Regions from separate parts of the Homo sapiens genome. Here regions 1, 3, 4, 5 and 6 are each linked to region 2. The links are contacts of gene promoters, found by promoter capture Hi-C in blood cells and fetal thymus (Javierre and others, 2016). All regions are on one chromosome and are shown on one strand. The core of a region is centred on a gene start or on the middle of the fragment in contact, and the rest is flanking DNA. Distances in the headings are between cores, read along the strand shown.

Region 1 (3,447 bases), core at 427-2,926, 310 kb before region 2:
CTGAGGCAGAAGAATTGCTTGAACCCGGGAGGCAGAGGTTGCAGTGAACTAAGATCAGGCCATTGCACCCCAGTCTGGGCAACAAGAGTGAAACTCCATCTCCAAAAAAAAAAAAAAAGCAGAAATGTATTTGTAATACACTTGGAAACTCACATATGAACCTAAACTTTAGAGAACTTTAAAAATGTGAAAAGTACCTGTCCAATTTAGCTCACAAAGAGAGATTATATCTTTACAAATATAAAAAAATAACTAGCTTCAATTACACCCATAACTCTTCAAAATCTAAGAATGTATTTTTATTTATTTTGTGAGAGACAGGGTCTGGCTGTCACCCAAGCTGGAGGGCAGTAGCAGGATTATAGCTCACTGCAGCCTCAAACTCCTGGGTTCAAGCGATCCTCCCACCTCAGCCTCCCAAGCAGCTGGGCCTACAGGTGTGAGCCACGGTGTCTACAAGATCTAGCAATGCCTCTAGATACATAAAGAAATCACATACATAAATAAAGCTTTAAGATATAAAGCTTCATACTAATTTGAATTAGATGGTAAGCGTCAATCTATAACATTTACTGTTTAAAAAAAAAAAAAGTAAAACTTAGCGTTGCTTAAAACACTTTTTTTGAAAAAACATAACTCAGATGTGGTCATTTGCCCCCAACTCAAAAAGGTACTACCTTCCGGCTACAACTGAACAACAGGTTTAAAGACTTATTTCCCAATGGTTGATACTTGAATCTAAATGTTCTTCCCGAGAAATCCATGCCAGAATTATTAGTGATATGATAAAAAGAATAGTTAGTAAGAGGCTAGAAAAATGTCTAGAGATATCTTGCCCACAGAATAACCGTGAACAAGGAGGGGAAAATGAAAACAGAAGACAGAGATTTGTGCATAGAAGTGTCAATCTCTCAACAATCCTCCTTGTTCCATACACAGGTGAGGACCGACCCACAGGAAAAGCAGTTTTGCTCACTTCACAGATCTCCCAAAGAACAGCTCCTCTGGCAACCACCAACATGACTCTCATCCCACGCAAGACAGTGTCTAGTTTGATGAAGATGTAAAATATGCAACTGCTTTCTCCCTTAGGGCACTTAACTAGGACAATTCCTCTTTATTTTTGGGCAATGGGAGAGAGAGACTTGTAAGGAAAGAGAATTAGTTTGAACTCAAGTGTCTCTGTGCATCACTCCCTCTCCCATCTGCATCTTTCCAGAAAGGCCTCCACATAATTTGGCTATACCAACAACAAAAGGAGTTGAGGTGGCACTTGAGAAATAACATAATACTTTAAGTCAGGATAATTTCCACCACAGAATGAATAGGGTACATGTAAGGTTTGAAAACATACTAATCCCACTGGACACAGCAAAATGTTCTGTATTAAAAAAATTAATAACTGTGTTTTTTAAGTCATAAATTATTACAAGTTATCTTGGTTGAGCAATCCCAAGTTTAAATTTGGTAACAGGCGAGAGACTAAAAAGAGCTAATGTTTTTTAGGAACCTAAAGCTAGTTCACATGACTGGCAAGGAAGCGACCTTCCCAAATGCAGTCGCTGTCACTCTAGGAGCATCTGCTCCCCCAGAGTGCACCTGTGTGGCTGGTGGAACAAGGCCGGGGCTAACACTGGGAAGTGCCGTCCACAGCACCAAAGCAGTGAGTGAGTGCAGCAGAAAAGCAGAGCTGGATGGCGGGGTCAGGAGAGAGAGCACAGACAGGAGAAGGCCGGATGTGGCCTCCACAGAGGCGCTCCCTGCTAGACTCATGCCGGAGGCAGCTGCACTGGTGAGAGGCAGCACCGGGCATGGGGCTGGGGAAAGACAAAGGAGTGGACAGCAAGGCTCCTCCTACATCCCCGTGTTCTTAACACAACTCCTCTGGGGTAGAGAGATGGCAGAAACCTGGAAAGGTGAGGCCACTTACTGGGCAAGCGGGCCTGGGCCTGCGAGGGGAGCACCAGCCTCTGAGGCAGCGCGCTCTGCCCGGCCGCGTGCGAGGGGGCCTGGGGCTGGGGCGGGGGCTGGCCTGGGGTGGAGGCCTGTGCTGTGGTCTGGGCCCGCAGTTTCGCAGGATGGGCCGGGCTAGCGGCTGTGCTGGAGGCCGAGGCGGGCTGGTGTCGTGGAGCACTGGCGGAAGCCTGAGAGGTCTGAAACGGGGCTGCTGCTGCTGCAATCGATAAGGTTTGTTTGTGCAAAGCTGTTAGAGGTTCTTAATAAAATACAATATTTTAAACTGAATTTTAAAGAAATAAAATAAACATTTCACACCGTCTCTCAAATGAGAAGTCCCCTCTTAAGGAAAAAAAGAGGGGCCATATAGTTTACAGGGTGAGAGAAATATAATTTTACTTGTTGATAATTATCTTCACTTCGAGCTACAGTACGCTACGCGGTACATTTCTCAGAGTAAACAGAAACTGTTAGAAGTCAGCCCAACCAAACATTAGTATCAATTAGAAACTATTTCCTAAACACACAAAGAAAACATCAACAGAGCTTCCACTCATATTTCTATAGAGAATGCTGGCAACAATGCAGGTCTGAGCATTTATTTTTAGCTCAGAAAACCTGGATGGACATGGCGTGGAGGGCCCCTTTGGCCAGGTGGTGAAATACTACTTTTAACTCTTTTGATGGCCTTTTCTACTCTACCCTTCCTCAAAAGAATAATTAAGTTCAAGTGACAGCACAAAATACAATATGAGCAGACGTTCTCAGGAGTCTCCTAGACGACTGCACGCACGCACCTCTGTCAACAGAAACAGCCTGCCCAGTGGCTGTGAGCATCAGATCAACACTTATCACCTAGGAGTGAAGCTTCTTCAATAGGGAAAACATCCATTACAAGCCATCAAAAAGTCTAAAACTCATCAAGAACTAAACAAGGCACCTTCAGAAAGCCAGCGGGTGGTGCCTGTTCCCACTCAGGGACAATTACCGCATCCAGAGGCGCGAGAAGAAAGTGCCATGAACTTGTCCCACAAAAACCTCCATAAGGCGGAGAGCAGACAACTACGTGAAGTCTACCTTTTGCCTCCGGATTGGCAGAGAACGTGGCGATGGGCGGCCGTCCTCGAAGCGGGCCCTGTGGAGCAGCAGAGGCCGTGGTGGGGGCTGCCGTCCGGGGCGGGTGAGTGCTGGGGAAAGCCACGGTGCGACCCTCGGGCTTCTGGCCATACTGCACAGGCTGAAACAACCTAGATGCCCATTGGTCCAGGCAAGAAGATACAGAGCATCAGACCACAGAGAGGACAGGCCACCTCATGGAGCCGGGGTTCACCGCTGCCCATAGGAAGCCAGCTCAGGGACCAGCACCCAGAGTGCAGTTTACAGAGGGAAGGGGAAAGATGCCTAAGTACTGCTCTAGGTAAGCTCACCCCGGGCCCGGGCGCAGTGGCTAACAAGACTAAGTACACCAAAGTGGTATGGTACATCCACCCA
Region 2 (3,655 bases), core at 244-2,743:
GCTCAGAGGTCATCCCTACAGTCATGCTCCAGGGCTATGAAGAATCCAGTTTTAATGGTCTCAAACGATGGGCTTTCTTCACGTGGAGAGACTATTCCACAGTTTAATGGTTGGTCATGGTTAGCTTTTCAGTCCGGGCCCCAGAAGTAGCCGAACAGGCAAAAAAGAAAAAAAACCACCCCACAACAACCCCAAAACCCAGAGACGAGGGGAAGGGGGATTGAAAAAATGGGAAGAAAGAGGGGAGCAAACCACCTACATCATGTAATGTTATCCTTTTCAAATCAAACGCCTTTAGAAATCCCTAATCCCAGGCCCCCACTGCCCATAATCGCTAGACACCCTCGAGTGACGACCTAAAGCAGGTTTGATTTGAAAAGAAACAACACATCTATATCCCAGCTCCACCCTTCAGTCTTAAGAGACAGTGAAACCAGCCCTAAGAACACTATCTCTTCCAAGAGCAAGGCCAGGGTCCGCACGAAGTCAAGTGGCCACCAACTGACGGGCAACTTTGCTCACTACCTCAATCTGTCAAACTCGTCGGATTATCACCGGGAAATCAAACGTCATGCCGGCAAAGTACGGGCGCTCCACTGAGGGCTCTGGGGGCATAACAGGTTAAGGCTAACTCACAGGTCCAAGAGACACTTCTAGCCACTGTCTCAGTGAGCGGCGGTTCGGAAGAATAAAGGCACGCCTCCCAGGGTACCCTCCCAGTACACCGAGCAGTGAGAGCGCGGCAAGTAGAAAAGCAGCGCACGACCCCATGGCATCGCCGGGCGGCAGGCCCAGGTGCACTCAGGAAAAGACCCTGGGCACTGGCTGCTTTCACCGCGCGGAATCGCCAACTGCAGCCCAGCGACAGGGTGAGGGGTCGAGAGGGGCTGCGGGACCAGAGACGATCCCTCCGGAGACGGACGCGGCACGCAATTCCAGCCAGTGCCTTAGGGCAGGTTTCACCGTCCCCCTCCCCACCAGAACACCAGGAGGAGGTGGGGACAGGGGAGGGGGTGTCCCCCAGATCCCCGCTGGCTCCAGAAAACTCTCTGCAGTCCTTGCAGTCAAGTCAACATCAGACGAGATCAAGCGGGTGAGGGAAGGGAAGGATCGACGGGTGGGGAGAGGAACCGACCTGTCGATGAGGATCTTGTGGTCCCCCATCCAGGGGATGAGGTGCTGTCCCTGTTCCTGAGCCAGGGCCCGCTCGTCGTCCCGGAACAGCTTGCAGGCATAGCCGAAAACCAAGAGCTCCACTCGGCTGCCCCCACCGCCGGCACCGCCTGGCCCGGCCTCCTCCTTCGCGCCGCTTTTCCTCTCGGGTTTGGCGCGGCCCCCGCTCGCGCCGTACATGACAGCGTCCCCGGCGTCCAGGCTGGTCCTCTTCTGTGCCGCGCGACGTCCCTGATACCTCCACTTGGCCTACCCCTTCAGTCAAAGACCCCGCATCCCGTACCCAACCTCAACACCGCCGCCATAGCGGGCCACAAAATGGTGGAGGGGCAGCTTCCGGCAGGAGAGCCCGCATTTCCGGCGAGCGGACCGGCAGATTCGCCTAGGCTTGGAGCTCTTTTAGCCGCTAGGAAATATTTTGGCTTTAATTTTCGCATTCAGGTGTGCCGCCACAATAGGCGCTGCTGTATTCAGTGGAAAGTGCAATTTTAATGTCCGTTTTATCGGGCAGCCGTCAGGACGTGGCGAAAGCGCAGCGTGGGATCGCGCGCCGGCTTCCGCTGCGGCCAGTCGGGCGGCGACGGAGTCGGAGGGAGGGGCCCGGCGCGCTCTGGGCCTTGGGCGAGTCCTCGTGGGTGGCGGGTTGCTGCAGCCTGCCACATGTGTGGAGGCCTCGGGTCCACCCCGAGCCTCCGCGCCCCTCACCATGTCCGAGTCGCTGGGGCCGTGCGTGCTCTGCCCAGGGTGGCGATGTCCTTTTCCTTGGCCCCGTTTCCTTCTCCATCCCTAGGGGGACTTGGTCCCCGACCCGCCCACCTTTGAAGGTTTCCGAGGCAGCAGAGGCCCCTGCGCTGCAAATCACTCGCGGGTGGCGAGATTTCGGAAACCTGAGACCCTTGTCGCCGGGAGATGGTCTGGCGGGGCAGGGAGACCCCAGTCTGGAGACTGGCCACCTGGATACGGTGCAATTTTGCTTGGTGTGTTTCCTCCTGGGCCGCAGTTTTCCCATCGGTGGTTCCATTAGGATCTTTCGGTCCCTTTTAGCTCAGTAATTTCAGGTCAGACAAAGGGCCTGGAGTGCAAAATCTTAGGCTTTGGGATGGGATGGGATATCCCCATGTTTGCCCTTGAGTGGAAAACGATGACAGATCGTCTCCTTTCTGGGCCTCAGATCCCCTCTCCATAAAAATGGAATCTTTCTACCAGTGATGTTGAAATGAGATAATGTATATGAACCTTTAACTGATTTTTGGAAATTAAGAAACAGGCAGTTCCCACCAAACGTCTTTTGTTGTGGTTTCCCCTGACTGGGTCATGCTTCTGTCTTCATTTGCCAGGCTCCTTACCCAAGTTTAACTCAGTCATCCATTTCTCCACCTGGCCTTATGTGTCTACGTTGTCTGGAGTTTCCCCTCACTGGTGGCTAACTTGTGCCTTCCGATTTGTCTGTGTACCTCTCATCACCACCTTAGGTTACATCCTGTGTTCAGCATCCCACCAGAATTAGCTTTAAGAGATCAGGGACATTGTTGGGGTCACCTTAGCATCCTCAGCACCTAGAATGGTGCTTAGCACACTGTGGGCCAAATACTGGTTAATACCTGTAGAATGAGCCGGGCCAGCAGCTGAGCATGCGTGGCCAGGCCATCATCTTCCTATCTAACTCTACAAGACTGCTCTGCCACTGCTGAGGAAGATGTATGTGTCATGGTTACTTGATAAAAACACTGTTGTTTGCCCCCAGGCATTTACTAGTTTGTTTCGGTGCTGGGCTCCCTTCAAGCTTTCCCTTGGGTTCAGGTGTGGGGTGCTAAAGCAAATAAGGAGGCCATTAGCTTGAGATCAACTCTGTAACACCAGCTCCTATGCAAGCAAACCAAAACCCAATCAAGTAATTTTTCTGCTTCCGTGTTGGGTCTATAAAAGCTTGCTGCTCATGCTGCTGAGTGGAACTCTCTGAACCTCTTCTGCTTCTGCATGCTGCCTGATTCATGAATTGTTTTCTTGCTCGAATAAACTCGAATTTGTTTTGTGTAAAGTTTCTCTTTTAACAGTTCTGGTGTCAGAAATGGGATCTGAAGGCCCCCCTATTCCCTCAATGATGACCTCTGGGAACAGTGACTAAACAGATGCAGGTGCTTCATTGTGCAGGACAGTTCTCTGTATAGCCTTGGGCCTACCCACTTCTCCCTCCTTTTCCTTTGTAGTTTTCAAGAGTAACTGCATAACGAGCTGGGATGCAACATCCTGAGATAGGGAGGGACTGGCTGAAGTAGCCCAGGCTCTGTTCCAGTTCTCCCCTAGAAATAGAAGGTCCTTCAACACTTTAGCCCAGTGATTCATGTGACATGTGGTATGTAATCTGGGTGGGCTGCTCTTCGGGATCTCTTATCTGTGGTGTAAGTGAGGAATACGCAGTAGAGATTTCATCCACCTGGGCAACTTTCTGAGCTTTGGGGGGATTGGCTCACAGTGAGTCCTA
Region 3 (3,510 bases), core at 769-3,268, 290 kb before region 2:
AGTGTACCCAGGCCCATTCCCTAAGGAACCTGAGCAGTGGATCAGAAACGCTGCCCCATTGACAGGTGAAATCCAGCAAGAGGGACGAGAGGAGGCATGGACATGATAACATGAAAAGGATACAGTGAGCCAAGATGCATGCCACAAACCACCCCACACGGCTGAGAGCCCAACGGCGGGTTCATGCCAGTCTAGAAGCAGCATGGGAAGTGGACCACCTGCTCTGCTGCCCACACACTGCACAGTGACCTGACCCTGGAGTCACAAGGTTCAGTCATAGCCTGACGAGTCTCTGTATTTTATTAGATTTTCACTAATTGTTACTGGATGTTAACTGTGAACCAGTTTTTTATTCATTCATAAAATGAATACTTCTGAGCCTCAATTTGCTCAGGTCAACAGATAGGAGCAAAGAAGTAGATAAGATAGCCAAGTCCCCACACTCCCATCAAACACACTGGCCTATAGGTAAGTCCTAGCAAATAGGTATTGTTAAAAAAACTAGCAAACTCTTACCTTCGTTACAAGCTAGGTGGGCAAAAAAAGCAATGATCTGCACTGTTTTACCCAGCCCAGCTTCATCTGCCAATATGCCATTGAGATTCTTCCTGTAAAGTTTGGCCAGCCAGTCCAGGCCAATCTTCTGATAATCTCTGAGAGCCCCATACAACAAAGATGGAGCATTAAACTTGACCTGCAGTGATGAACAAATAAAAGAATGACAGCTCGTCAAAATAATCACCCAAACTTTTTCTCAAAACTGAAATCAACAGTCACATGATAAACCAATTAGAAAGCCACAAAAATGATCTACAGAAAACAGGAAGAGGAAGAATTGCTTCTTTTGGAGATCGAGTCTCGCTAGGTCACCCAAGCTGGTCTTGAACGCCTGAACATCTGGCCTTAAGCAATCCTCTTGCCTCACCCTCCTGAGTAGCTGGGACTACAGGCACATGAAGAATTGCTTTTTCTGACAACTCTGCAGTTGGGATAGACCATTTCACTGGGAAGAGGAAAAGCTTTTCTCATGGCTAAGCTATGTGCTCTGTCTCTCAAAGGCCCATCCCACACTTGAAAGCTTAGCGCCTCACCGAGGTTGTGACCCGAGCACTGCCCTTCGGCAGGATGGCTTCAGCCACCGCAGTGACGTCCGCAATGTCCTTGGCGTTTGGCTTCCCGATATTCATCCTCTCGGCAGCTTTGAACTGATCCATGATGAAAAGCGAGTCGATGAGAACCAAGTCCTTGCGACTCTCCCTGTCGCCTGGACAGTCATCTGCATCTGTAACGACAATAAAACAGAGAAGTGAGGGCCACTGAGAAGGCTTTATAAATCTAAACCTTTTTTTAAAACAGGAAAAAGTTTATAGAATCCAACTACTTTAAATACTGAATTAGGCAATAATTTTTTATTTGTAATCCAAAATATCTAACAATGCTACCTGGATAAATGGGAGAGAACTCTCATGAAACTATCAAACCAAGGACCATTCTGGAAAGCCCTCCAAGAGTATAATTTGCCCCAAATAGTCTGGCATTTTGGAAAATGTCTCCATAGCAATTAGGAGCTGGTATCACAGAGAGATACATGTAGGTGTCTCAGGGTTTAGGGATCTCCCGTCTATCACCAAGAAAGAAAAAAGCAGAACCCTTTCCCAAATGTGGGAAACCGGGAGGAGACCAAACCCGCCACTCCTTCCTCTGGTCCTGCTGGCAGCGTGGGGTCTGGTAAGGCCTGACCTCCCCAAGGCTCCTGTGGGCCACTCCCCAACTCGCATGCAGGTGTCTAACTGTCCCAACAACTGGAATGAGAGCAGGAAAGGCAGACCTTTTCTGGTATGCTCTGTGCATCTGTTTAGAAAGTCTAATACCAAGTAAAATAAACTACTCAAAACTGGTGTGTTGAACAAACACAGCACAGCCTGAATAAATATATCTAGGTCCATAAAACAATGATGTTTATAAATCTAGAGAAAAATATTTTTACATCCTTCACAACATGATCAAGTGCCCCGATAACTGTGCCAGGTTAATAAATTAAAAGCACGGAATTTAATAAAATTCTATTCAATATAAAGATACTTATTAAATATTTCTAATTTTTTATTTTATCAAACTAAAAGAAATTTTCTAAATCTTATTTTAAGTCTTTGTAAGTACTCCGGCTTCTGCTTTTAACCCTGAATTCTTCCAAAGGCTGGGAGCGCACCTTCCTCTCCGCTTGTGTCCTCCCCATCAGGCTTCGGCCGGGGCCACTGAGAACTCGGCAGGAAGGCGCCTTCGTACAGCTTCATCAGGTCCAGGAGGGGCAGCTCAGCTGCAGAGGGTTGCGGGCAGAAGGGCTGTTACTTTATAACAACAACTGTAATTTAAATTGGGAAGGAGCAGCAGCCAGGAGAACCACGGTAAGAAGGGCAAGGGGCTCCCTCTCACATGTATTCCTTTTTCCAGCTTTAGATCACTCCTTGGAAAAAGATTATATTGTCTAAAAGCACACTTGTTTTTTCTAAAAACTAAAATGGTTGCCCATTACTGATAAAAGGTGTAAAATATTTTGTTGGGGGATGCAAGGGGAATGATGAGAAATTACTTAGTAGGTGCAACACACATTTGGGTCATGACATACCAGAGACCCAGACTTCACCACTACACAGTACAGCCAGGAAACAGCACTGTACTTGCACCCCTGAAATTTATGCAAATTTTTAAAAGTATAAAATATTTTCTCTATAAAGATGAGAATCTTTGAAAGAAACTCAATTGTATTCACAAAAGATTTAAAATATCTGAAATAATCTAAATGAACAGTAACAGTATAGACTAATAAATAAAAATGTAAAAAGTGAACACCATTGATAGGAAATAACTGATGAAGATGATATATAAAAATACAAAATATCAAATGAAGAAACAAAAAGCAAAAATGTTAAAAAGTATAATAAAACATAATTAAGCTTTTTTTATAAAACACTCACCCTAATTGCTTAAAAAAAAATACCACACATTAATTAAATCCCCAATAACAGTGGGCAAAGGATATGAAGCTGTTACATACATAAAAGTGTAAAGGGCAATAAAATGTTTTTTCATTAATCATCCCTGGAAATCAGTGCACAATTTGTTAAGTACCAAATTATCAACCACCTTAAAATCATAACACTGGGAAATTATTATGAATTAGATACTCCCACATGCTGCTGATAATGGCATAAACTGGCTGGATTTTTCTGGAAATCAACACGGAAAGCTGAAGGGCTTTGGAATCCAATGCCCTCAACCTCATCATTTCCCCTTTTAGTGAGTCTATCCAGAGGAATGACAGAAATGTGAACCCAGATTTCTGTTCAAAGAATGTTCACACAGTGGTAGATCTAACAGGGGAAAACCCTTTAGTTGGGCTGTGTACTTGTGATATGTGAGCTTGTTTGCATCTGTATTTTATGTCAAAGACTGTTGAGCCAAAACAACAAATGCCATGGACAAGCACCCTACAAGGACCATGTTAAAGGC
Region 4 (3,758 bases), core at 612-3,111, 340 kb before region 2:
ACATCCCGCCTACCTCCTATCTAAAATCATCCTACAGGGAGGGGACAGTTCACACACACACACACACATACCCTCCTACACTTCACACACACACCCCTACACTTCACACACACACACACCCCTACACTTCACACACGCCCCCCTACACCTCACACACATACCCCTACACCTCACACACACCCCTACACCTCACACACACAACCCCTACACCTCACACACACCCCTATACCACACATACCCCTACACCTCACACACACCCCTACACCTCACACACACAACCCCTACACCTCACACACACCCCTACACCTCACACACACACACCTACACCTCACACACACCCCTACACCTCACACACACACACACACACCCCTACACCACACACACACACACATACCCCACCTCATTTTCATCCCTCATACAGAATGGAAACCATCCCCTAAACAGCTGAATGTTTCTGAAATCAACATACTGATCAGCTACTTATTTTATGAAATTCAAACTAGACAGTTTTTCACCAATGGAATACTTAAAAAGAAGAAGAAGAATTAACAGACAAGCAAATAATTTCGGCAGAATGCAGTCAAGGTGCACAACCCAGGTGAAGCGCAACTCACAGTCAAGGCCCCAGGAGCCACTGGCGACGCCAGGCGCTTGTTGATGGACTGGAAGGTGGCAGCTGGGACCCCTGCGATGGTGTTCACGATCACATTTCCACTCACGGCACCTGCGGAGACAGGCGGGCATAAGGCAACAGCGCCAGGAGAAATGGGGTCCACATTTCAGCATCTCTGTATTTGTCTTACCAGTGGGCATGCTCGTCCCAGTAACTGATGTTTTAATGGTTCCTGCCTATTTAAAAAAAAAAAATCCATTTGAATTTCACGTCAGGCTCTCCCCTGCATAAATCCTCCAAAGGCTTCCACTTCATTCAGAATCAAATCCAAACTCCACGACATTCACACAGCCACCTGTCCCATCCTCCCCAGCTCATTCCACCTGGCGGTGCCCCCACCCTCTGTCTACCTGCTGTCCCTCCACCCCTATCCCATTGTCCCTCCACCCCAGGGACCCTCCATCCCACTGTCCCTCCACCCTCACCCCACTGTCCCTCCACTCCTCCGTCCCTCCACTCCATTCATCCACCCTCTGTCCCTCACCACCTGAGTCCAGCCACACTGAGCTTTCTGGCCCCCATATCAGCCAAGCTCAGGGCCTCTGTACTTGCTGTTTTGTTCTTCTTATGACCAACTCCTTGTCATTCAGGCCTTAGCTCAAATGCCAAGTCCTCAGAAAGGTGTTTCCTAACAAGCCAGTCCTGCATTGTGCCACCCTGACTCCTCCCGCCAGCATTTAAAATGATCCCTTTGGCTGCCTCCCTCCCCTGTAGGACGTGGCTCCAGAATGTGGGCACTGCCCATCTTGCCCACCTTGCACCAAGTAAGTATTCACAAAGATCCCTTTTGAATAAATGAGGAATGAAGTTGCCTGAGTACATATAAAAATTCCACTACAGCAAACAATTTTCTAAAAACTACTGCAGGAAATGGTTCTATGTAACAAAAATATTTTTATGCCTGCCTGGTAGTCCAAAGTGTGGGTTTCCCCAATTTGGCACAGCTCCTATTCTCTGCAGGTGTGATTCTGCGCATATGATTTCAGCGTCTGTGTGGCACACGGACGCACACAGTACAGAGATACACCAGAGCGTGGTGTGCATGGCCACAGTCCGCAGCTCCGCACCCTGCCTTTCTTTTCACAATGCTTCTTGTGTGCTTTACAGCTTTTCTACAACAGGCATTAAAGACTGACCTGTGTGGGGGAGCACACATGGGCATGCTTTGAGACACCGACACAGGCAGTACCTGCTCTCTAAGTGTGTAGGAAGTCAGGAAGTGAATGCGTCACAGGTATGTTTTACAAAACCCAGGCAATTACAAACTTCCCAACCACCTCCACTAAAAGGAGCTGCCTCTACCTGCCAAATCCAATAAAGCCACTAAGCCCACAAAAGCCCTGGAGGAGAGAAATGGCAGAATCCAGGTGAAAACACACAATTCCTCTGGGATGAGACTAAGCCTTTTCCCATTTCTTCAGAGGAAGGTCTACAAGCTGGAAATGTGCTAGAACTGGCAACAAGTCTTCGTTTCAACAGAAAGCACTTGAATCAAGTGCAGGTGTGGGTGACTTCCCGTAGAGGGGAAGCCCGGGAGGAGGCCCCTGCTCACCAGTACGGCTGCACTGCCCCCCGTCGTGATTGCGGGCTGCGCCTTCGCTGGGGCCTGCACAGGCTGTGGCTGGGTCTGGGGCTGTGGCTGGGGTTGGGGCTGGACAGCTGGTGGCCCTGCTGGCGGCTGGCTGCCCGCTGCCTGTGGTTGTGGCAGCGGTGGCGGTGGCTGCTGCGGGGGTGGTGGGGGCTGCGGCTGGGGCGGGGGTGGCTGGGCCACGGCCGGCTGCTGTGCCTTCTGCTGATCAGCCAGAGCCTGAGGGGCCAGGAAGGAAGAGGAGCCACTGGAGGGGCAGACTCGGCCTGCATACCCCCTGGATGAAGTCACAGTCACCACATTTTCCCACTCAAGCAGAAGGGCCCAGGGCGCTGACCTTTTTCTCTTTTGCGATTCGCTCTGCACGGAGAGATGCCACCTGGATGGGAGGCAGCGGCTTGTCATAGTTGATTCCACTGAAAGACAGACGCAAAGGTTAAAAACATACAGGCAAGTTTTAAGACAGACAAGTACCACGTACCCTAGAAACACCATGCTGCCAGGTGCTGGGGCAGCTCCAGCCCAAGAGATGAGGGCGTAAAGCAAGGTGCCCAATGTGCCCTGCAGGAGATCGAGCCACCTAGACCTCATCCTCAGCCTGGCGCTGAGTCCTCTTCCTTGAGGCCGAGCTCTCCCACTCTCCAGGAAAAGTATCTCCGAACACGTCCCCAGCGTACTTGTGGCAGCCCCCAAACGCACAGCCCACCTCATGTGTCTGCACTGTACTTGGGAAAATCTCTGTCTGTTCCTTCTGTGAGGATGCCCTCGAGTTCCTCTCCAGGGAGGTAAAGGGAGGGCGGGACTGTGCCTCTCTCGCTCCCCCGAGAATGCCCAGGCTCCACGCCGCGCAGGCCCGCGGTCCATAAATATTAGTAGGGTGAATTAACTCTTCATTTAATCGACAACATCAATCAAATGATGGGTCTGTGCTCCCAGACGCTAGAGTCCCAGCGATCACAGCACTCACATCAGACGACAAACAGGTAAAATGTGCAGTGGGTCTGAAGACGTACTGGCTGCTATGGAGGAAAACAGCAGGGCGGGGCTGCAATTCTCAACAGTGCGCTCTGAAAACATCTCACGAGGGCAGTTAAGTGAAGGGCTGGGGCGCGGCTGCCAGCACACTCAGGGAGCACCAAGGGGCTGAAAGCCAGGGCCAGGCGACTCAGAGCGTGGGCAGTAGGGAGTCCTGGGGGTTTGCGGAGATGGGCCCTGAGCCAACTCCTTCTGACAAGGATCACTCCACTACTGTGCGGAAAGGGGGCCACAGAACGAGGAAGCCTCCCAAATCCGCCACTGTGTGACAACTGTGGGCGGCAAGCCACTCAGGTGCCGAGGCAAGAGACCAAGGACACGAGCTGTTCCAGTATAATAAAATATAAAACAAGAATAGTTATACCAGATATAGATCTTAGATATGATTATCTATGAATATCATTAATCATTAGTTGGTAGCAATTACTCTTTATTCCAATATTATAATAATCCTCGCTCTAT
Region 5 (3,614 bases), core at 389-2,888, 360 kb before region 2:
GGGTCAGGGACTGATTTTGTTGTTGTAGTAAAGCTTTTAATAGAGTTTGGTTTCTTGAAATCTATATGCCAGTGTGACTTTAAACAAAATTTAGAAAGTTTAAAGCACCGCTTTACATTTAAAGCACTGTGCTAAAGAGTCATATTGTGGAGCATCAGTGACAACAGTGAAAGCGCCTGAAGGGCTTCTGTGGGAGGCAAGGCCACTGTGCCCACAGCGCCTCTGCTCAAGGGCGGGCCCCGAGCGGAGCCTGCTTGCCTGAGGCCTGTGCCTCCCTAAAACCACAGGGCAGTGTCTGCGACTTGCAGGACACACCCGCGATGATCAGTGAATGAAGGGTCCTGGGAATGAGCCCAAGGTGAGGCTCCCTCAGTATGGCTGACACAACCTCTAAACGCTTGTTCACTCTTCTCATTATTAAGTGTATCTAGTTTTTCCCCTGAAGTTAATGTTTTTGTGTGTATCACAAAAATCAAAAGTGATTCCCTAATCATGACCTCAGATGAAAACAACCCATTCTCTGACCTGGGAAATGTGAGGTTTCCACTTTGTCTATGCGTCCTACCTGCTGGGAAGCAGAGGCAACTTGCTGGATGCTGGCCACGGGTGTTTGCTGTTGAACAACTTGAGGAAGTTTTGCAACCTTTGACAAAACAAAAAAAGCCAAACATACAATTCAAAGGAGTATGTGCACAAAAAGAGATTTTTCCTCCCTTTCTGTCCTCAGTTAATGCAAAAAACACAATGACCAGGTGACACAGAAGAGCAATTCTCGTAGTGTGCCCACCTGCAGCAGTGAGAGAGCAAGTCGTTCCACTGCATGGTGAGTCAACTGACTGCCTCCCCAATTTGCCATCACTCATCATTTAAGCTTATTTTTGGTCTCATATTTCAGACACATTTTTTCTTTTCACAAAAACGACTGCAAGTTTATATGAAAGAATCAGACTGAGGATGGTAAGTATTTGAGCGTCTTGTGAGTCCCAAGGGCTCTGCATATGACAGGCCTGGACGACGTTCCAGTAATGAGCTGTACAGTGCAGCTAGGGCAGCCAGCTGAAGTGGGGAACCCGGTGACGCACCAAGGTTTTGAGGCTGGTAATTTTATCATTTTTCTACATTCTTCTTAGTCATGATTGAGATCTGGCTATTTATAAAGCAACACTTTCCACCCAGTGCCCACTTTCTGTGCACTTGCTACTGCATGCATCTCCCGCTGTCTTGACGTAGTAAGAGGCTCTGGGCCACCTGTGTGTCCTATCAGCACCGTCATGGCGTGCACCCAGAACACAAGAGAGGCTCCAGCGTGGGCAGCTGCTGGGGGCCCTGATTTCAAGGGCCCTCCCTGCACAAGGCCCTCACGGACCCTGGTCTCTTGCTGGGTCCTGTTACTTACAGAAAACGGATGAAAATAATATTTCCCAAGATTATTCTGCGAAATATGTGAAATTACATGATTTACTCACACATGAACAAAGGTCGAAATAAATGTTAGTCCTTACTAAAATTAAAATCAATCAGAAGGCATTTACTAGTTTACTGTCACTTAAACAATTATAAATAAAATTCACTAAGATAAGTGCCCTGAGCGCCCCCTGTGGAACTGCTGGGAAACAAAGATGCAGCCGGTGCTCCAGGGCCCATCTCAAGACCACAATGGTCCAGGACTTACTTGGCACAGCACTGAAAATCCTGAGACGTCTTAAATAAAGCACTAGCAAGAAATCTTAAATGTACCAAGAAACCTGCAAAGAGTCAGGAACTGCCAGTCTCCAAACCTAAGCACAGGCGGGCATCACGAGTCACGGAGCAGAAAAGCTGCACAACCTCTGCCCGGGATCGCTGGCCACATGGAGACGCACCCCGTGATCTCCAGGGTCGCACAGGACACAGCTGACCAGACACCAGGTATAGGCCAGTTCTCGGTGGGGAGCTTGCAAAAGAGCCCCGTGCTACTGCCAGCTGCCATCCTGGAGGGAGACACTGTACCCACAAAGGTACCCAAAGGCTGCAAAGAAAGCATCCCCTTCCTCCAGTGGCATCTGTAAGAAAAGCACCTGCCCTAAGCCTCAGTGCCGGGGAGGAGAGAGGAGGAGACACAGATTCAGAGGCCAGGTGGGTAACACCTGAGAGCTGAGTGAAAGCCTGAGCCACACACCAAGCAGTGTTCCTGTGGCACCTGAAGGTGCCCGCGGAAGCAAAACTCCACCTTTGCCCCAGGCTGCGAGGGGTCCCCGCAGATGCAGCACATTTCAGACAGGGAAATCACCAGATCCAGAAAAACACCTCACTCACTCTGCGAGGCCTGGAAACAAGAGACTATAAACAAAGACCAGGCATTATTTGGGAACTTCTGAAAATAAAATAATAAATCATCAAGATAAAAATTCAACAGACAAGCTTTGAAGCAGATTTGACTTAACCAAGGGAAAAATGAGTGACTGAGGAGACAGAGCGAAAGACATGACTCAGAATATAGTACGACGAGACAAAGACACAGAAAATACAAAAGCTGCTGAGAGACCTGGAGGGCAGAGGAAGCAGGACAGGGGCAACACGTAAACAAACAGTGGCTGCTTATTTCCTAAAGACATGAGAGAGACTGCCCGAGATTCAAGAAGCTGGAGCATTGGAATGAAACTGCAAAACAACAAAGACAAAGACAACGTCTCGATAACAGGCAGACAGTGGGGGAGAGAGGTGACCCAGAACAACAAAGACAAAGACAACGTCTCAGTAACAGGCAGACGGTGGGGGAGAGAGGTGACCCAAAACAACAAAGACAAAGACAACGTCTCAATAACAGGCAGTCGGTGGGGAAGAGACAGGTGACCCTGGAAGAGAGAAACGCTGGACAGACACCGGCTCCTCTTCAACAACAAAAGCAGCCACAGTGAGGAAATGATACCGTGAATGCACTCAGAAAACAATGCCGACCGGGCGCGGTGGCTCATGCCTGTAATCCCAGCACTTTGGGAGGCCGAGGCAGGTGGATCACCTGAGGTCAGGTGTTCGAGACCAGTCTGGCCAACATGGTGAAACCCCACCTCTACTAAAAATATAAAAATTAGCTGGGCATGGTGGTGTGTGCCTGTAGTCCCAGCTACTCGGGAGGCTGAGGCGGGAGAATCTCTTGAATGTGGGAGACAGAAGTTGCAGTGAGCCAAGATCATGCCACTGCACTCCAGCATGGGAGAGTGAGCCTCCGTCTCAAAAAAAAAAAAAAAAAAAAAAAAAAACCCCAAAAAACAATGCCAATCCGGAATTCTGTACTAAGCAAAACTGTCTCTCAGGAACAAGAGTGACACACAGGCATTTTCAAGCACTAAAGGAAATTCCAAAGGATGGGTCAAGTGGAAGGAAAGTAATTCCACATAAAAAGTCAAAGATGAAAAAGGACAGAATTATGGCTGGGCATGGTGGCTCACGCCTATAATCCCAACACTTTGGGAGGCCAAGGCAGGTGCATCACGAGGTCAGGAGTTCGAGACTAGCCTGGCCAACATGGTGAAACCCATCTCTACTAAAAATACAAAAATTAGCTGGGCCTGGTGGCATGTGCCTGTAATCCCAGCTACTCAGGAGGCTGAGGCAGGAGACTCGCTTGAACACAG
Region 6 (3,578 bases), core at 1,071-3,570, 390 kb before region 2:
AGTAGTCATTCCAGAGACAGGCTGGAAACACGGGCACAGAGTGCACCTGAGGCACTCCAGGTGTGGCCTGACCCCGGCTGGGAGGAGAGTCCAGCTCCCACCTTCCTACCATGACAGTAGACCCCAACTGCCACGTGTTTTTTAATGAAGGACATGTATTACAGACAAATGCATTTTATGGACAGCTTAGACCTGATGTCTTTTCCATCATCACCTTCATAGAAATTCAAGGGAAACATTCAAAAAGCTGCAAAGATACCACCCACTACAGAAGCCGCCTCTCCTAACGCCTGATGCTCAGGGACACAGTAGACAGTGCTTACGTGAAAACGGTGCAAGCTCACATCCAGCACGAGGTGTGGCGAGCCAGGCAGGCACGAAGCGACGCTTGCCAGCAAAACCACTATAAAGAGTGCTTGATAAACACACTCTTTATGTTTGATTTTAAATGGAAAAATTCAAGATCCAAAATTATGTAATTTTAAAGATGTAATAAAAAGACTCAAAATGTGTCCACAGGTGGTGGTCTCTGGGTTAGGTGGATTATAATGATTTTTTCCCTTTTTATACTTTTTTATGCTTTCTAGATGTTCTCTAATTACTATGTGGCATTTTTATATCCACACGGAAAAAAAGGCATCTTTTTAAAAAGTGGTTTTCCTGGCTGGGCGCAGTGGCTCACACCTGTAATCCCAGCACTTTGGGAGGCCGAGGCAGGCGGATCATGAGGTCAAGAGATCAAGACCATCTGGCCAACATGGTGATGTTGGCCCGTCTCTACTAAAAATACAAAAAGTAGCTGGCATGGTGGCAGGTACCTGGAGTCCCAGCTACTCGGGTGGCTGAGGCAGGAGAATCACTTGAACCTGGGAGGTGGAGCTTGCAGTGAGCCGAGATCGTGCCACTGCACTCCAGCCTGGCGACAGAGCGAGACTCTGTCTCAAAAAAAAAAAAAAAAAAAGTGCTTTTGCTTACTAGTAAACTCTTCTTCCAGGTGTGCAAAGTTTGCACATGAGGGACTGTAATCTAGTAAAATAATAATTAGAAGGTGCATAGAAGATACAAGGCAAAAAACTATTTGTACATTATTTCTAACTCAGAACACCTTTTCCTACGGAAATGCAATGACTACAGTCTCTTTCTAAGATCAGATAGATCAGTGGCTCTGTACTTCGGAAGACTGTGCCCGCAGGGGACATCAGGCAATGTCTGGAGGCATTTTTGGTTGTCACAACTGATAAGGGTGGGAGAACTGCTGGCATTTGGTGGGTAGAGGCCTGGAGGTCTCTAACCATCCTACAACACACAGCACGGCCCCACCAGGAGGAATCTTCTGGCCCCAAATGTGAACCAGCTGAGGCTGAGAACCCAAGACTGAGGAGGTGGCCCTGTGGGGCTGACCCGCCACACCATCTGCACCGTGTGTCCAGGGCTGAGTGAGAGCATCTCCTTGCAGTCAGGCCACCCAAGCACACAAGGAGGCAGCCTGGCCCTCAGTGGCAGCCAGACTGACCCCGGCTCTTCAACTTATTGACCGGGAAGGGGCCACTGACACTCCTGAGAATCTGGTGAAAGCTGTGGACTGTTCTTACCAAACACACCTCACAGCCACAAGCTTTACATGTTTACACATAAGGGACTCTAAGAACCAGACCCTCAGTTGCCAGTAAGGGAATGAGGCCAAGGGAGCTAGTGTCTCCTCATGGGGCAGAAGGGCAGCTGGAGTCCCCCTGAGAAAGCCCAGCCTGGGCGGGCCGGCCGGCAGGACCAATGGTGGGCAAGAGTCCTAAGTGGACCACAGAAGGTCTGGGGTTAGCAGGCAGTGCCTGGGCTCTGGGGAGGCCAGATGAGGGGAACAGCGAGTCGGAGTGCACAGGAGCCTGTGCTTGTACCTGGGAGGAGGGGCCGGTCCTCTTCCATGACTGCTCCCCGTGACAGGACTCCCACCACAGCAACGCTCAGAAAGAGGACAGTGCACACGTCCCCTTCCCACAGCCCTAGTCAGAGCCTCCCGCCAGCCCTGATCACAACACAAAGGGCTGGCGGTGTCTCCGTGCCTGTGTGCCCTAGGCACACACACTGTCGTCTCCAGACACCGCTTTGGCCGCTGGTAGAGTCTGCATGAGGGCAGTCAACACACGGCCAAACTGGAACTCTCTGCCCCACCACAGGTTTCTGCAGTCTCCATGCAGCAGACATCCCTGGGAGCCCCCAGGCTGCTGGGCAGGGCTTCCTCCTCAGTTCAGATTCTCCTCCACAGACGGTGCTTTTCCTGAGGTGGAGTGCAGCAGAGGACCCTTCCTGTCACCCTACACTGACGCAGGCCTGGAACTAGAAAACGGGCTCAGAATACTCCGGGGGCACAACAGAGCTGCAGCAGGGAGAAGGAAGAGGAGCCCTCCCCGGGCCATGCAGGCAGGCCAGCAACAATCAGAACGCGTGCTGGAGGAGGCGAAGGCCAACCAGCAGTTCATCCGTATTCGTCGTATTAGAGTGAACTTAGTGTATTAGAGTGAATCCCAGCACTTTGGGAGGCTGAAGCAGGCGGATCACTTGAGGTCGGGAGTTTGAGACCAGCCTGGCCAACATGGCGAAACCCCATCTCTACTAAAAATACAAAAATTAGCCAGGCGTGGTGGCACACGCCTGTAATCCCAGCTACTTGGGAGGCTGAGGCAGGAGAATTGCTTGAACCCCTGGGAGGCGGAGGTTGTAGTGAACTGAGATCAGGCCACTGCACTCCAGCCTGAGTGACAGAGTGAGACTCTAGTCTAAAAAAAAAAAAAAAAGAAAGAAAAAAGACAAAGATTTTTCCAAATGTACAAAACTGAAAGAATTCACCACCAGCAGATGTGCAGTACAAGAAATGAAGGACATACTTTAGGAATAAGGAAAACAGATCCAAGGTGAAAATCTGGTTCTATATAGTAAACTTGGGAAGAAGAAAACTTCCTCGACCTGATAAAGAATCTCAGTGGCTACAACAGCTAATATGATACTCGATGGTAAAAGCCTGAAAGCTTTCCCTCTTAAGACAGAAACAAGGAAGGGATGTAATACAGTTTGGATCTGTGTCCCCACCAAACCTCATGTCGAATTGTGATCCCCAGTGTTGGAGGAAGGGCCAGATGGGAGGTGACTGGATCATGGGGGCAGTTTCTCATAGTGTTACACCATCCCCCTTGGTCGCAACAGTGAATTCTCATGAGATCTGGTCATTTTAAAAGTGTGTATCACCAGCCAGGCGTGGTGGCTCACGCCTGTAATCCCAGCAGTTTGGGAGGCCGAGGCAAGTGGATCACTTGAGGTCAGGAGTTCGAGACCAGCCTGGCCAACTTGGCAAAACCCCGTCTCTACTAAAAATACAAAATTAGCCAGGCGTGGTGGCGCACGCCTGTAATCCTAGCTACTCAGGAGGTTGAGACAGGAGAATCGCTTGAACCTGGGAGGCGGAGGTTGTAGTGAGCCAATATCACACCACTGCACTCCAGCCTGGGTGATGGAGTGAGACTCTGTCTAAAACAAAAAAAGTGTGCATCACCTCCCCTTCTCTCTCTTACTCCTGCTCTGGCCATATC

Evidence for each region. Contacts are between HindIII fragments. The CHiCAGO score rates a contact against its expected background, and 5 or more counts as called.
Region 1: a contact is called between a fragment that was not itself captured here and the fragment with the promoter of SFSWAP in region 2, in 1 of 17 cell types (neutrophils). The highest score is 9.0, in neutrophils.
Region 3: a contact is called between a fragment that was not itself captured here and the fragment with the promoter of SFSWAP in region 2, in 1 of 17 cell types (neutrophils). The highest score is 7.4, in neutrophils.
Region 4: a contact is called between a fragment that was not itself captured here and the fragment with the promoter of SFSWAP in region 2, in 1 of 17 cell types (neutrophils). The highest score is 5.4, in neutrophils.
Region 5: a fragment that was not itself captured here is called in contact with the fragment with the promoter of SFSWAP in region 2 in 1 of 17 cell types (neutrophils); the score reaches 10.6 in neutrophils.
Region 6: a fragment that was not itself captured here is called in contact with the fragment with the promoter of SFSWAP in region 2 in 1 of 17 cell types (neutrophils); the score reaches 5.7 in neutrophils.

What each region holds. Positions count from the first base shown.
Region 1 is chr12:132,019,805-132,023,251 of GRCh38, reverse strand. EP400 (E1A binding protein p400) reads right to left here. Exons shown (of 53, transcript NM_015409.5): 22 at 3,034-3,203; 23 at 1,931-2,173. Among named protein-coding and RNA genes, the nearest start is that of SNORA49, 9.7 kb to the left of the region's middle. The HindIII fragment of the contact is 2,299 bases long and covers 527-2,825 here.
Region 2 is chr12:131,708,928-131,712,582 of GRCh38, reverse strand. It overlaps SFSWAP (splicing factor SWAP), which reads right to left and starts at 1,493. Exons shown (of 18, transcript NM_004592.4): 1 at 1,136-1,493. The coding sequence starts at 1,353. RefSeq lists enhancers at 1,259-1,328, 1,419-1,708, 1,849-1,938. The HindIII fragment of the contact is 11,852 bases long and covers 1-2,958 here.
Region 3 is chr12:132,003,884-132,007,393 of GRCh38, reverse strand. It overlaps EP400 (E1A binding protein p400), which reads right to left. Exons shown (of 53, transcript NM_015409.5): 13 at 2,210-2,317; 14 at 1,092-1,282; 15 at 517-694. Among named protein-coding and RNA genes, the nearest start is that of SNORA49, 26 kb to the left of the region's middle. RefSeq lists an enhancer at 401-1,600. The HindIII fragment of the contact is 1,876 bases long and covers 1,081-2,956 here.
Region 4 is chr12:132,052,065-132,055,822 of GRCh38, reverse strand. EP400 (E1A binding protein p400) reads right to left here. Exons shown (of 53, transcript NM_015409.5): 42 at 2,599-2,677; 43 at 2,226-2,480; 44 at 804-849; 45 at 615-724. Among named protein-coding and RNA genes, the nearest start is that of SNORA49, 23 kb to the right of the region's middle. The HindIII fragment of the contact is 6,897 bases long and covers 1-3,758 here.
Region 5 is chr12:132,073,545-132,077,158 of GRCh38, reverse strand. EP400 (E1A binding protein p400) reads right to left here. Exons shown (of 53, transcript NM_015409.5): 52 at 566-643. Among named protein-coding and RNA genes, the nearest start is that of SNORA49, 44 kb to the right of the region's middle. The HindIII fragment of the contact is 1,529 bases long and covers 874-2,402 here.
Region 6 is chr12:132,098,691-132,102,268 of GRCh38, reverse strand. It overlaps the pseudogene EP400P1. Among named protein-coding and RNA genes, the nearest start is that of DDX51, 44 kb to the left of the region's middle. The HindIII fragment of the contact is 1,405 bases long and covers 1,618-3,022 here.